Regions from separate parts of the Homo sapiens genome. Here region 1 is linked to region 2. Evidence: promoter capture Hi-C in 16 types of primary human blood cells and fetal thymus (Javierre and others, 2016). All regions are on one chromosome and are shown on one strand. Each heading gives the region's core, a stretch centred on a gene start or on the middle of the fragment in contact. The rest is flanking DNA. Distances are from core to core; before and after follow the strand shown. Region 1 has its middle 22 kb from the start of NDUFV2. Region 2 holds the start of RALBP1 (ralA binding protein 1).

Region 1 (7,478 bases), core at 3,448-5,947, 390 kb before region 2:
GGAAAGATTTCAGGAACGGTTTCAAGAACAGGAACTCCTCTATACCAAGGCCCTGAGGTAGGAAAATGCTTAGTTTGTTGGAAGAATTGAAAGAAAGCTCATGTGGGCAGAGCAGACGATGCAAAGGAGTGTGTGGCCAGAGACCAGGCAAGAGAGGCCTTGCTCCCCATCTTAAGTACTCTGTGGTTATCCTAAGATCAGTGGCAAGCCATTGCTGAGTTATAAGTAGGGAAGAGACATAATCAGACCTATTTTTTTAAAAGATGGCATTGGCAGTTTCTATTGGGTTAGAATGGAGTGGGAGTCCGCGTGGGAAATCAGTGCAGAGGCCCCTGCCATGCTCTAGGGACAGATGGTGGTGACGGCACTAGGGCAGTGGCTGAGGCGGTGACAGGAAAGGGAAACATCTAGACTTGGTGTTGGATGGGGTGAGGGGAGTGAGGGAGAAGGACATGCCTCCAAGGTGTGGCTTGATAAAGAGCGCGTGGGTTTGTCACTCATGAAGATGCAGAACAGGAGGGGAACAGCTTTGGTGACTGGGGAGGTGGCATCATCAGGAGCTTAGACGTAGACTTATTAGGGGCAAGCCGCCTAGGAGACATTCAAGTGGAGATGTCAGGGAGGCACTTGAATGTAAGAGTGTTGTTGAAAAGAGAGCCTTATGCTGGAGCTGATTGCTTTGGGAGGTGGTACTAAAATTCATGAAAACTGATGAGACCATCTCGGGAAAAAGAGTACAATGAAAAGAAAGGAAGACCCAGAACCAAGCCCAGAGAAACTTCTACTCTTAAAAATAGATAAAGGCTGCTGGCACCATGGTCATACCTGTAATCCCAGCACTTTGGGAGGCCAAGGTGGGAAGATCGCTTGAGCCCAGGAGTTCAAGATTAGCCTGGGCAACATGGTGAAACCTTATCTCTACTAAAAATACAAAAATTAGCCAAGCATCATGGCACACACATGTAGCCCCAGCTACTCGAGAGGCTGATGTGGGAGGATCACCTGAGCCAGGGGAGGACGAGGCTGCAGTGAGCTGTGATCACGCCACTGCACTTCAGCCTGGGCAACAAAGTGAGACCCTATCTGACAAAAAAAAAAAAAAAAAAAAAAAAAGGCAAAGGAGAAGGAAGTAGTTAAAGAGCTGGGGCAGGACCTACCGGAGAGGTAGGAGAAGAACCAGGAGAGTGTGGTGTCTAACGAGTCAAGAGAAGAGAAAGTTCCATAAGGGGGAAGTGGCCAGCAGTGCCCAATGTAGCTGGGACCACTACTCATGAGTAAAGCATGCAAAGCACTCAACAGCAGTTCAAAGAGGAGAGCACTGCACATGAGAAAGGAAAAGATACCTTTATAGAAATTTCAACCGTGAGTAGCTGGTTTATTTTCAAGAGGACCTTTTACCCACATTTTGTGGCAGCCAGATAAGTAGGAACTATCAGTACCATTTTTATTTTCCTAATATTTATTTATTTATTATTTATTTTGAGACAGAGTCTCGCTCTGTTGCCCAGGTTGGAGTGCAGTGGTGCCATCTTGGCTCACTGCAACTTCCGCCTCCCAGTTTCAAGCAATTCCCCTGACTCGGCCTCCCGAGAAGCTGGGATTACAGGTATGTGCCACCAAACCTGGCTAATTTTGTATTTTTAGTAAAGATGGGGTTTCTCCATGTTGGTCAGGCTGGTCTTGAACTCCCGACCTCAGGTGATCCACCCGCTGTGGCCTCCCAAAATGCTGGGATTACAGGCATGAGCCACTGCACCCGGCCGCCCAGCTGGTTTTTTTTGTATTTTTAGTAGAGACGGGGTTTCACCATGTTAGTCAGGCTGGTCTCCAACTCCTGACCTCAGGCAATCCACCCGCTTCGGCTTCCCAAAGTGCTGAGATTACAGGCATGAGCCACCACACCCAGCCTATTTTCCTAATATTTAATTAGGAAATTTTTCAAACATAAAAGTTGAATGCATTACACAATAAGCACCCAGGTGTCTATCACCTGGATTCCACAAGCAATGTTTTATTATACCTGCTTGATCACGTTTCTATCCATCTAACCATCCCTCTCACCGTCCATCAATCCATCTTAATTTTTGGATGCATTTCAAAGTTAGTTTTAAACATAATATTTCACAATGAAACACTTCAGCATCCATATAATTAACTAGAATTCAATATCTGTTTATGGTTCTTTTTCTTTTTCTTTTAGGAGATGTGGTCTCACTATGTTGCCCAGGCTGGACTTGAACTACTCCCCAAGCAATCCTCCTGTCTCAGGCTCAGTAGCTGGAACTACAGGCACTGCCACTGCCCTCAGCTGATAGTTCTTTTTCCTTTAGGGTAAAATTTAAAAAGAGCAAACTGCACAAATCTTAACTGTGCCGTTTGATGCTCTTTCTTTTTTTTTTTTTTTTTTTTTTTTTTTTTTGAGACAGAGTCTCACTCTGTCATCAGGCTGGAGTGCAGTGGTGTGATCTCAGCTCACTGCAACCTCCTCCTCCCGGGTTCAAGCAATTCTTCTGCCTCAGCCTCCTGAGTAGCTGGGACTACAGGCGCGCGCCACCACGCTAGGCTAATTTTTGTATTTTCAGTAGAGATGGGGTTTCACCATATAGGCCAGGATGGTCTCGATTACTTGACCTCATAATCTGCCTGCCTCAGCCTCCCAAAGTGCTGGGATTATAGGTGTGAGCCACCATGTCCGGCCCTTTCTTTCTTTCTACAGGCAGGGTCTCACCCTGTCACCCAGGCATAGTGGTGCCTCATGGTTCACTGCAGCCTTGACCTCCTAGGCTCAAGTGATCCTCCTACCTCAGCATCCCAAGTAGCTGGGACTACTGGCACATGCCACCACGCCCAGCTAATTTTTTTATTTTTTGTAGAAACAGATTCTCCCTATGTTGCCCAAGCTGGTCTCAAACTCCTGGGCTGAAGTGATCCTCCCACCTCCGCCTACTAAAGCTAGGATTTCAGGGGTGAGCCACTGCACCCTGCCTGATGCTTTTTGACAAATGCGTATCTTGCACGTGTCCTATTAAGTTATAGAATATTACATCGACCCAGAGTTTGTCACTGCTGCTTTATCTTTCAGAAAGTGCAGAGAGCGTAAGGAAAGAGCTCTGGTCCCGGGCTCACGGTAAGAACACAGCCAGTGTTCATTCCCTTCTCCCTTCTGCAAGGGGACTCTACCACCACTCACACAGATTCACCCACATTTTCACCAAGATAGAAATAGACATTGAACTCCTCCTAAAAGTGCTTTTGTAAACGTTTCACAATAAACCCTTTGTAGAGGACAATGGTGTCCAGTGAACCAAGCCCAGCCTAGGAAATCATAATTCCTCACTCAGAATCCTGCTCTGGGCATGCTGAGCAAGCTTATGTTAAAGTTCTCTTACTTGTAAAACAGGAACAATAACCATCTGCATCAGAGAAGTGTAACAATTACCCTGGCATTTTCATGTATTAACTAAAATAGCCCCAGAGAAAAAGGTGAAAAGATTTCAATACCAGGTTATGAACATTTTTACCAACCTGCCACATTGTCACAGTTTAACCCTTTGGTGCCCTAACCTGGCCATGCTACTGAGGAAAGGCCTGTTGGGCACCAGTTTGAATCAGGGACGTTCTGTGTGGAGTGCTGGGCCTGCTCAGATTTGGCACTGGAATCAGGACTGTGGTTGCTTGTGATGTCTTCCCAGGTCAAATATCCATCGCTAACAACCCCTGAAAGAGGATGTGGGCTTTGTTTATTTGTTCATTTTATTGCTTTTGTTTGTTTTGTAACTCTGGGCTTTAAGAAGATAGTATTAGAAACTTATCGGTTGGAAGGAAGAGAGGGTTTCCAAATTACTTGCCCTAAATCTGGATTTAAGGAACTCTGAGACATAAATTGAGATAAGAGCAACCTTTTTTTTTTTTTTGAGACAAAGTCTCGCTCTGTCCCCCAGCCTGCAGTGTGATGGCATGATCTCAGCTCACTGCAACCTCCGCCTCCTGGGTTCAAGCGATTCTCCAGTCTCAGCCTCCCGAGTAGCTGGGATTACAGGCGCCTGCCACCACGCCTGGCTAATTTTTGTATTTTTAGTAGAGACGGGGTTTCACCATGTTGACCAGGCTGGTCTCGAACTCCTGCCCTCAGGTGATCCACACGCCTCGGCCTCCCAAAGTGCTGGGATTACAGGTGTGAGCCACTGTGCCCGGCCGATAAGAGTACCTTTTAAGATTTAATTAAAATTTGCTTGAGGCTTCTTCCCAAGCTCTGTGAGGGGTCTAATTATTTCCCTGGGTTTATGTTAATTCCTGAGGTTTTGCAGACACATGTTCACTTCCAGTTCCACAATCCTGCTCTTGCTGAATGCACGCCTCTCTTGGTGTCTACTTCTGCTGTTGTCATCCTTTTCTGCTCTGGGACAATCTCGTTCTGGAACTCAACCTCTTTTCTTTGATTTATCCCAAACCACTTTCCCAAGGCAAAGGCTTGTACAATCCCATATCTGTATCTTTAATTTTTCTCCCCTCTCCTCTCTTTTTTTTTAATTAATTTTTTTAATTTAATTTTTTTTTTGAGACCAGTTTCTGGAAGTTACACTCTTTGACCCAGGCTGGAGTGCAGTGGTGCGAGCTAGGCTCACTGCAGCCTCCACCTCCTGGGTTCAAGCAATTCTCCTGCCTCAGTCTCCTGAGTAGCTGGGATTACAGGCATGTGCCACCATGCCCAGCTAATTTTTTAAATATTTTTAGTAGAGACGGGATTTCGCCATGGTGGCCAGGCTGGTTTCGAACTCCTGACCTCAAGTGATCCGCCTGCCTTGGCCTCCCAAAGTGCTGGGATAACAGGCATGAGCCACCGCGCCCGGCTCCCTCTCTTCTCTTGACTGTTCTACTCCCACTCACAAATTATTGTTGATGTTTAGATGTGGAGTGGTTTAGCTATAACTTTGCTATCTTATATTCTTTCATCCAGTGGCCCCAGGGTCTTTCCACCCACAAGTGGCTAATCAAGGCATTTTTCCAGACAAAGACAGTTCTCTAAGAGGAACTTTGGTATAAATTCTTTAAAGTATATATATGTGTGTGTGTGTGTGTGTGTGTGTGTGTGTATGCACATATACACATCTATACACACAAACACGTACATATATACACATATATAATATATATGCATATACATACATCATATATCATGCATTGTAGATATGTATATAATATATAAAGTATACAGATAATTACATGAATACATATTTATTTATTTATTTTATTCATTTATTTTTGAGACAGGGTCTCAACTCTGTCACCCAGGCTGGAGTGCAGTGATGCAATCTTGGCTCACTGCAACCACCACCTCTTGGGTTCAAGCAATCCTCCCACCTCAGCCTTCCGAGTAACTGGGACCACAGGCACGTGTCACTATGACTGGCTAATTTGTATTTTTGGTAGAGACATGTTGCCCATGCTGGCGCATAAATACATACGTATTTAAATCTATATACATATTATATGTATACACACACACACATATATATATACTCCACTGCATAGATTCAGTCATCTACACATCTAAACCACCTTTACTGTGGAATTAGTGAACTCTTTAGCTCCTCCCTTAGTCTGTTTCTTATTCTCATCTTTATTTCTCATTAAACTGATTATAATATATAAATATATTTCTTATATTTATCTCATCTTTATTTCTTATTCTCACCATCATTTTATTTCTGCATTGCCATACACCTTTCTTTCTGATTAAAATTAATCCCATCCAGTTTGCACTGTTGAGTTTATAAAATGGGAGACTGGAAATATCTGTTCAGTCACACACTGATTCAATCATACATTCATTCAACATACAATAATTGAGCACCTACAATAGAATACCATATTGGGTCCTATAGAAGAGACGGATAAAAGGGAGGGGGTCCATGCCTTCAGAAACTTAAAATCCAGCTGGATGTGCAACACTTAACACACACGAAACAAAGCATCCTCAAATGCACAATTCTCATCAGAGGAACAGCAAATTAGAGCAGAAAGCTAAAGCTTTGCCATGCACACCAATGCTGCTATATCAGCAGAATGAGCAGGAGGGGGAGAAAAGCCACTGTGGTTAAAAGAAACTGCTGGCCTATGGATTTTTTTAAATTACAATTTGCATGCTCTTCTAACAGTGTTAGTTCTGCTTAGGTGGCAGAGTGGCTTTCCTGAAAGTATGAGCTCAGCCTTGTCTTATGCCTGTTTAAAGAAAGAGGTCAGGTAAAGTGATTGTAGTAATAGCACCAAGCTGGTTGAAAACCACAGTATCTCTCAGATGGCACCAAAAACACCCACACGATGGAAAATTTTTGCCTGCTAAAAGCCGCTTGAAGTTGTTTCAGAAACACATATGAGCAGTATTTGCTCTTCTCCTTGGGAGTGTTCTCGAGGAAAACAGCTTTCCAAACTTAACATGTTAAGGTAGTAGAACAGTCTAGTGGCCTGAGTGAATTTTGGATTGAGCAGCAAGTGGGCCTTGAGTATTCAGGTAGCAAGTGGTCAAGGAGAATTTGGAGCTGGTCAGTGCCTGGCTAAACTGCATGTGCCTTGAAGAGAAGTCCTTCAGATCCACCTGTGTCTACACAAATTCATGAGTGACTGGTGCCGTGAATTCAGTCCCACTAACGCACCAGCTGTGCTTTTTGGTAGTTGTTTCCTTTTCTTGGCAATTTGGTTTTAGGTTGTGTCAAAAGGGGAAGACACAGAACTGAGACAAGGCAAAATTATAAGACATGTATCTTATTTTTTAGCTTCTCTATATCACTATATTTGAGGTGAAGGATTTAATCCTTATATAGCTCTTCCAAATCTCTTCATACAGTACCACAATTTATAACTGAACTCTATACTGAATAATCATTTAAAGCATTTTAAACTACCTTGGAAGAGAAATGAGTAATGACTCAATATATTTGCAAAAACCCATACTGTATCTATTGTAGGATGTCTACATAAAAACTGAATAACCCCATCAGTGTTCATTTGACATCAAAGTGGACCTAGGGGCAGAAAACAAAAGGACTCTCATCTTAAGGGCTGATAAATGTAGTCTATGTGTGGTATTGATAATTTTTTTAATTCACAGATCAAATATATTTTAATGTACACATGGAAGAATTTAACTATGAAGTTCATGAAGAATGGCAAGTATTAACATACTGAAAGATGGTATTCATGTGCAGGAGAAAGATAATCATCTGTTTCTCAATGATGGCAACATGCAATAAATGACTTCCTTCCGTAGAACCTCCAAATTAGAGTAATTCGTGTATTTCCCGTTTCACATTCTAGGAAAGTAAGTTATATCATGCTTTTCTAAGAACTGGTTGTTTTTCCTTGCATACTTCTATGACAAAATTTAAAATAATTTATTTGTAAGAGGATATACTGATGGTCTTAATTTGAAAACATTTAGTGAGATGTACCTGGCATACTAGATGTGATACTAAAAGAAC
Region 2 (6,579 bases), core at 111-2,610:
AGCAATTGCCTCAGTAGAAAACTCCCTCTGCTCCCCTCCTGCATCCACATAGCAGCTTCAGGCAAGGCCTCCATAAGGCCCAGCGTGGATCAGTGCCTGCCCCTTGGCCGAATCAGTGCTGTCACAGGCAGAGAATTGTCACTGCCATGCTCACCTGCCCAACCCAGTGGTCAGAGAAGACTGTTCTACTGCGAGAGGAGCCATGAGAAGGCTTTTCCGAAAGTCAAAGACCAATGGCTACCTCAGACCATCCCGTATCCACTCGTGGGAGGCCCCTGAATGAATCTAAGGCCCCAGGGGTTGAACTTTACTGAGTAGGGAGCGCAGAGTACTAGGGACAAATTTACCGCCCGCTTTGAGGAAAGCTGATGTGGGAGCAGAGAGCAAGATGGATAGCAGCGGCCAATCTAAACGGGCAACGAAGTGCCACAGAGTGCTGCACGTAGGAATGCGAGTGACAGGTAGGGTCGTCTATTCCAAGTCCCTCCTCTCCCCTAATAAACTGCCACATTTCAGAAAACACGAAGACTGCTGAAGCCGTTTCCAGCCTTCGCTACGCATTAGCAGAGCAACTCAACAAGCCTGGGTGAAAGGCTTCTCGAAGAAATTCAGTTATCTCTACTGCCAGCCAAACACGGACTGGGCAGCTTTCCTCGGGGGCTGCTCGGTAACTGCTGAGCCGGGGGCGCGCTGAAGCCCTGCAGAAGCCCACACCCGCTTCAGGAATTCCGTGGATGTTCCCGACAGAGGTTTATTCCCGCCTATCCCTACAGGCCCACGGCGCTCTTTCCTCCAATCCCACACCCAGTCGAAGGCGGGGCAGCCGCCCCACCCAGCGGCCAGCCGGGCGGCCCCCAGTCTGGTTTAACTGGTTGGAACGACTAAAGCACGCTGGCGCAAGGAAAGCTCTCAACTTCGGGAGCTGAGGCGCAGGCTGGCCAGAGCGTGGAGAGGAAAGCCCTTTCCATCCTCAAGGCCGTTGCAGGAGATGCCCGCGAGCCACCTTCGCCAGCACCACACCGGGGTAAGCCGTCCGTCCCCGAAACCCGCAAGGCCACCGACTGCGCAGGCGCCTGCAGAGCACTGGCCCTCGGCGCGTTCTCTCGCGCTCTTCTTCAGTCTCCTCAGCGAGCCTGGGGACGAAGGGGGCGCGGTGCCTCCTGGGTGTTGTAGTTTGCTTCCTTGGCGAGAGGCCTTCGGGCTGGCTGGACGCCGGGGCCTTGGGAACTACGCCTCCCAGCGCGCCCCGCGCGAGAGCCCAGGTCGCCTGCCCTTGACGGCTTCAGCCGTCTGAGCGGAGAGGAGGATCCGGGAAGCCGGCTGCGGCGGGAGGAGGGAATGCGCGTGCGCGCTGGACCGCCTCGTCCCGTTCCGTCCCAATCATTGTAAACAGGCAGAGGCTGGGCGGGGTGGGAATGGGGCGCCCGAGGCCGGCCTGGGGCGCAGCGCAGGAGGCGGCTCCGGTGGCTGCGGCGGCAGCGTGAGCGCGAGGAGGCGGAGGCTGCGGCGGGGCGGACGGTCGCGCGGCGGCAGGCACAGGTCAGTCGCAGGGAGCGGTCGCGTGCTAGGGTCGCGGCGATACCCCTGGAGTGCCCGAGGAACCCTCTCCCGCGCCGGCCTCGCGCCCGCGTCTGTCAGGCAGCGTGTGGGGCTCGGTGCTCGCAGCGCTCGGGTTTGAAGTTGGGGGTGGGGGGCGTGGCTGCCCCTGGCGTGGGTTCCTCCCCGGAAAGCTTCGCCCCAGTTTTCGCCCCCCTTGGCCGTGCGTCCCTCCCACTGGCCGACGGGCCTCCCTTCGTGGCGTCCTCGTTTGTGGTGCTCTCGGGGGCCGGGGGTGGAGAGTTAGGAGTCCCCAGGCCTCGGGGAAGCTCTTGGGGGGCGCCTGGACAGAGGCTAGGGGACCCAGCCCTCACGGTTGGTGGATCGTGCCCGGCATAGTGGCCAGGCTCCAGGGCTTACCCAGGGGACCAGGACAGGCTCCTGGTGTCGCCCACCGCTGGCACTGAGCAGTGGGCGCCTTTGGGTGCTGCGATCCTTCCTTCAGGTTTCAGTGGGAATGGACAGACAGATCTGAAGTTGAAAATTCTTTTCACAACTCATGTTCAACTATGTGTGTTGTCAGAATGCTCTTAATGAGGTCAGTGTTCTCCCTCTTTTTTTTAAAACTGATCGTTGTGAGAGTGAAACAGGTTTTACAGAATATTTAACACCTCCGTCTTCCCTGAAGTAATTCTGCTGTTTCAAGTTTTGGGATTCAGTATTACAAAGCCTTCCTCTTGAGCAAGGCCTAGTACAATTCTTCAAGGTCCCTAGCATGTTAATTCGAGGTGTTTTGAACGTGCATATACAGGAAGTGCAGCCGTTTGGCCGTTGAGTTAGTGCTCCATCCAGCCTTGTTAGAAAAGCTTTCGCTGAATTTTTAATTTAGTGGAGTGGTCATGTTCTAATGCTGCAGTACTTTGGGGAGTATTCCATTATACTTGGCAGTTATTAACGAAATACTGAACTTGTGATAAGGTTTTGTTTTGGTGCTCAGCATTTCTAAATGAATAAGTGGGACTGTGAATAAGAAAGATCACCTCACTTTCTGTTTTTAGAGTTATTGTGGTCATTTGATAACTCCTTTCTGTCTTTGTGAAAATAATTACTGTAAGCTGGAGTGGCGGTAGTAGGGGTAGGAAGGAGGTCAGTAGAGTGGTTTCCACCTCTCATTCAAAGTATCTGGTAGATCCAAGTGGGGTAGGTTAGTTAACAGTAGCTTTTTTTTTTTTTTTTTAGTTTTTTATTTTTTGAGACAGAGTTTCGCTCTTGTTGCCCAGGTTGGAGTGCAATGGCATGATCTCAGCTCACCACAGCCTCTGCCTCCTGGGTTCAAACGATTCTGCTGCCTCAGCCTCCTGAGGGGATTACAGGCATGCGCCATCACGCCCGGCTAATTTTATATTTTTAGTAGAGACATTTTCTCCATGTTGGTCAGGCTGGTCTTGAACTCCCGACCTCAGGTGATCTGCCCGCCTAGGCCTCCCAAAGCGCTGGGATTACAGGCGTGTGCCACCGCGCCCTGCCAACAGTAGTAGCTTTTGAGAAGTGACTCTTTAAACAAGGTATCTCGAAACAATGTAATACAACTTAGTTTGCTTTCTCTTCAGGATATTGTTTCTAATTATGGATCTTATCCAGACTATTTCTCCCCTAATTTAGAATAGGAAAGTGGTATCAGAAAGTGCATAATAACTTTAATTTGTACAGTTATATTTGCATAGTTGTTTGCTTGGCAAGAAGAGATCGGGCCCAGCATGTAACCCAAAAGAATATTGTTTCTGTTTTGAAAGATCCCTGATAGAAACTTATGTTAGTTTGTATAAGAGGGTACAAGGAAAAATGCAGATTATTTAGAATACAGGAATTACTATGTAGAAAGTACTGTGACCAGGTGAAGAGGACTTAAAGATACAGAAGGCAGTGTTCCTGCCTTCAGGGTAGTTGAACCTTATCTCTTACTTTAACTGTCAACAAGTACAAGATTGTTTTGATTGAAGAACATATGCGGGTACAGTGGATGTACAAAGGAGATAGTGGTCAGTTTCTTAAAGTGAAGAAAAGAGCTGAAGAAGAGGGAAACTGTAAGGAAAAACTATGTAGAAGGTGATGAAAATCAGGAGTGTACAGGCATAGAAAGAATGGGCATTTAGGTAGAAGGAGCAGTGTGAGAAAAAGCATGGGAGTCTAAAATTAGAGAGTAGCATCTGCAAAAATAGCAAGTATAATACAGGGTGGTGGCAAGACCTGAAACTGGGGAGATAGGCAGAGACCAAATTATGGATCTTGCAGACCATCAGAATAATTACAATTTTATTTTATAAGCAAATAGGAGTCATTGAGAGGACAAAGAAGAGACCTAAGCCAGCTCAGCCCATTTTTAACCCTCTGCTATAGGTCAGGCACTGTATTAGGTACTGTATATTTTATGTCCTTAAGCTTAAAGAAGGCTTAGTCATGACTAATGCAGAAATTGGGGGGCTAGGGCAGGGATGGGGAAGGAACTTTTAGAGGGAAAGGTGGGCAGAAACGTAGGTGAGAAAGAACATGGAACACTTTTTTTTTTCCCAATACAGACACCATCACTCAGTTTTATTGGTTTTGTCTTATTAGCCTCTGAAGTAGGCAATTATTGGTGTGAACATACATTTTGAAAAACATCTGGAGTCAAGAGTGCACGAGTGTCAACTCAGTGCAAGTACTGTTGGTAAGCATTATGTCCCGAGGATGAAATCGGAGGACCAACAGGCCCAGGAGGCTTCACAGCGAACACCACATGCCTCGCGCCCAAAAGGACAGCAGACCGCGCTTCAGAACGGAACCGCCTTCTCCATGTAAACTTTTGACGTAAACTGTGTGCTTCAGGGTGGCCTCTTCTTCTCCGAGATCCTCTCCTGCGTCCCGAGTTTGGGAATGGCCCGGCCGTGCTCAGGCCCAGGCGGTGGAGGCCTCGGTGTAGTAGTGCCGTGCTTGTCGACGTTCCCAGGAGTCCGGGTTCAGAAGCCCCCTCTCCGGTGGATTGGCAGCTTCGCGGTAGCTGGGCTAGTCTTCCTCTGGAAACTCAGTAAAAAGAGTCGGCGCTGTCCGCCTGAGCGCGGGTTTCCTACCGAGCTAGAGGCCAGCCTGCCTCAGGCGCAGAAGGGTTTGCCGCCGGCCTTGGTCAGGGCGAGCAGCTCCCTGGTGGCGCCCAGAGCTGGGGTGTCCTGGGGCGCGGCAGGCGGAAAGGCACGCGCGGGCCAGGGGTGCAGTCAGCACAGAATATGGAAGAGAATGGGAAGTTGTTTTCTGTAGCTGTAGCATTAGTTGTGGTGATAAGTAGCAGAAGATGAGGTTGCAGGTATCCTCAAAAGTATTGCGTGCCATTCCAAGGACCTTACCATTTTTTCCTGTAGATAACAATAGGGTTTATGTATTTTAATGAACAGAGAGACATGATAAGATTTTTCTTTTTATTTTTTTTTTACTTTTTTGAGATAAGGTCTCACTGTGTCACCCAGGCTGAAATGAAGTGGCACTCACCGCACTCCGTCATGGCTCACTGCAGCCTCGACCTCCCAGGCTCCAGCGATCCTCCCACCTCAGCCTCACGAGTAGCTGGGACCACAGGTGAACGCCACCACACCTGGCTAATTTTTTGGTATTTTTTTTTTTGTAGAGATGGAGTTTTGCTGTGTTGCCCAGGCTGGTCTTAAACTTTGAGCTCAGGCAGTCCACCCTCCTCGGCCTCCTAAAGTGCTGGGATTACACGTGTAAGCCACCATGTCCGGCCAAGATTTTTATTTTAGAAAGATCATTCTGGAATTGTAGAGTAAGGATTTCAGAAGGGATGGAGAGAAGGTAAGAATGGATGTAGAAAGACTGTTTAGGAGGTTTTTGCACTAATCGAAGTGAGAAATAAGGGTCCAAACTAAGGCAATGTTAGAGGGGTTATGGAGGAGGAGGGTAATAGAAATATTTAGAAAGTAGAATTCATAGGATTCAGCAACAATTGGATATGGGGAGTGAGGGAAAAATAATAGAATAAGATGACTTGGATTTTAACTTGGGTGATTGAAGAGACAATGGTAAAATATACTGAGATGGGGAATTCAGGAAGAGAAGCACATTTGAGGAGAAACAGTATTTTAGCTTCAGAACATATTGAGTGGAAGTTATCTGTGAAACATCCAGGTGGAATCATCTGCTATGGAACTGTGAATGTGGATTTGGAGTACAGTATAACAGGCTATATTATGAGTGGTATCTGAATTCTTTGATTTAGATAACACCAAATAAGAAGAGTTTGTTAACATAAAATAGTTCTGGAAATAGGCTGTGGAGAACATTTAAAGCCAGATAGAAGAAGAGCTGGGAAAGGAAATTCCTAAGTGTTTGGAGATGTAGAGAAATCATGAGAAAATGTCATAGAAGCCAAAGTGGGATCTGGCACCATCACAGCTCACTACAACCTCCGCCTCCTGGGCTCAAGCCATCCTCCTACCTCAGCCACTCAAGTAGCTGGGACTGCAGACACATACCACCACACCTGGCTAATTTTTGTATTTTTGGTAGGGATGGGGTTTTGCCATGTTGCCCAGGCTGGTCTTGAACTCCTGGGCTCAAGCGATCTGCCTGCCTTGGCCTCTCAAGTGCTAGGATTACAGGTGTGAGCCACTGCATTGGGCTGGGATCATTTTTAAAGGAAGTTATACTTCACAATCAACTCTCAAGAAAAAATAGAAATTAATTTTTTTTTTTAAAAAAGGAAAGCCTCAGGCACAGTGGCTCACACCTGTCCTCCCAGCACTTTGGGAAGCTGAGGTGGGAGGATTGCTTGAGCCAAAGAGTTTGAGACCAGCCTGGGAAACATAGGGAGACTGGTGTCTCTGCAAAAAAAAAGCAATTAGCTGGCTGTGGTGGTGCACACCTGTGGTCCCAGCTACTCAGGAGGCTGAGGTGGGATGATCGCTTGATCCTGGGAGGTTGCGGCTGCAGTGAGCTGTGATTGTGCCACTGCATTGCAGCATGGGTGACAGAGTGGGACCCTGGCCTAAACAAAAGGAA

Evidence for each region. Contacts are between HindIII fragments. The CHiCAGO score rates a contact against its expected background, and 5 or more counts as called.
Region 1: a fragment that was not itself captured here is called in contact with the fragment with the promoter of RALBP1 in region 2 in 1 of 17 cell types (neutrophils); the score reaches 6.3 in neutrophils.

Annotation. Positions count from the first base shown.
Region 1 is chr18:9,076,748-9,084,225 of GRCh38, forward strand. No RefSeq gene overlaps it. Among named protein-coding and RNA genes, the nearest start is that of NDUFV2, 22 kb to the right of the region's middle. The HindIII fragment of the contact is 2,662 bases long and covers 3,367-6,028 here.
Region 2 is chr18:9,474,153-9,480,731 of GRCh38, forward strand. RALBP1 (ralA binding protein 1) reads left to right here and starts at 1,361. Exons shown (of 10, transcript NM_006788.4): 1 at 1,361-1,539. It also overlaps the pseudogene IRX4P1. RefSeq lists a silencer at 1,292-1,701 and enhancers at 1,325-2,193, 1,932-1,991. The HindIII fragment of the contact is 10,934 bases long and covers 1-1,728 here.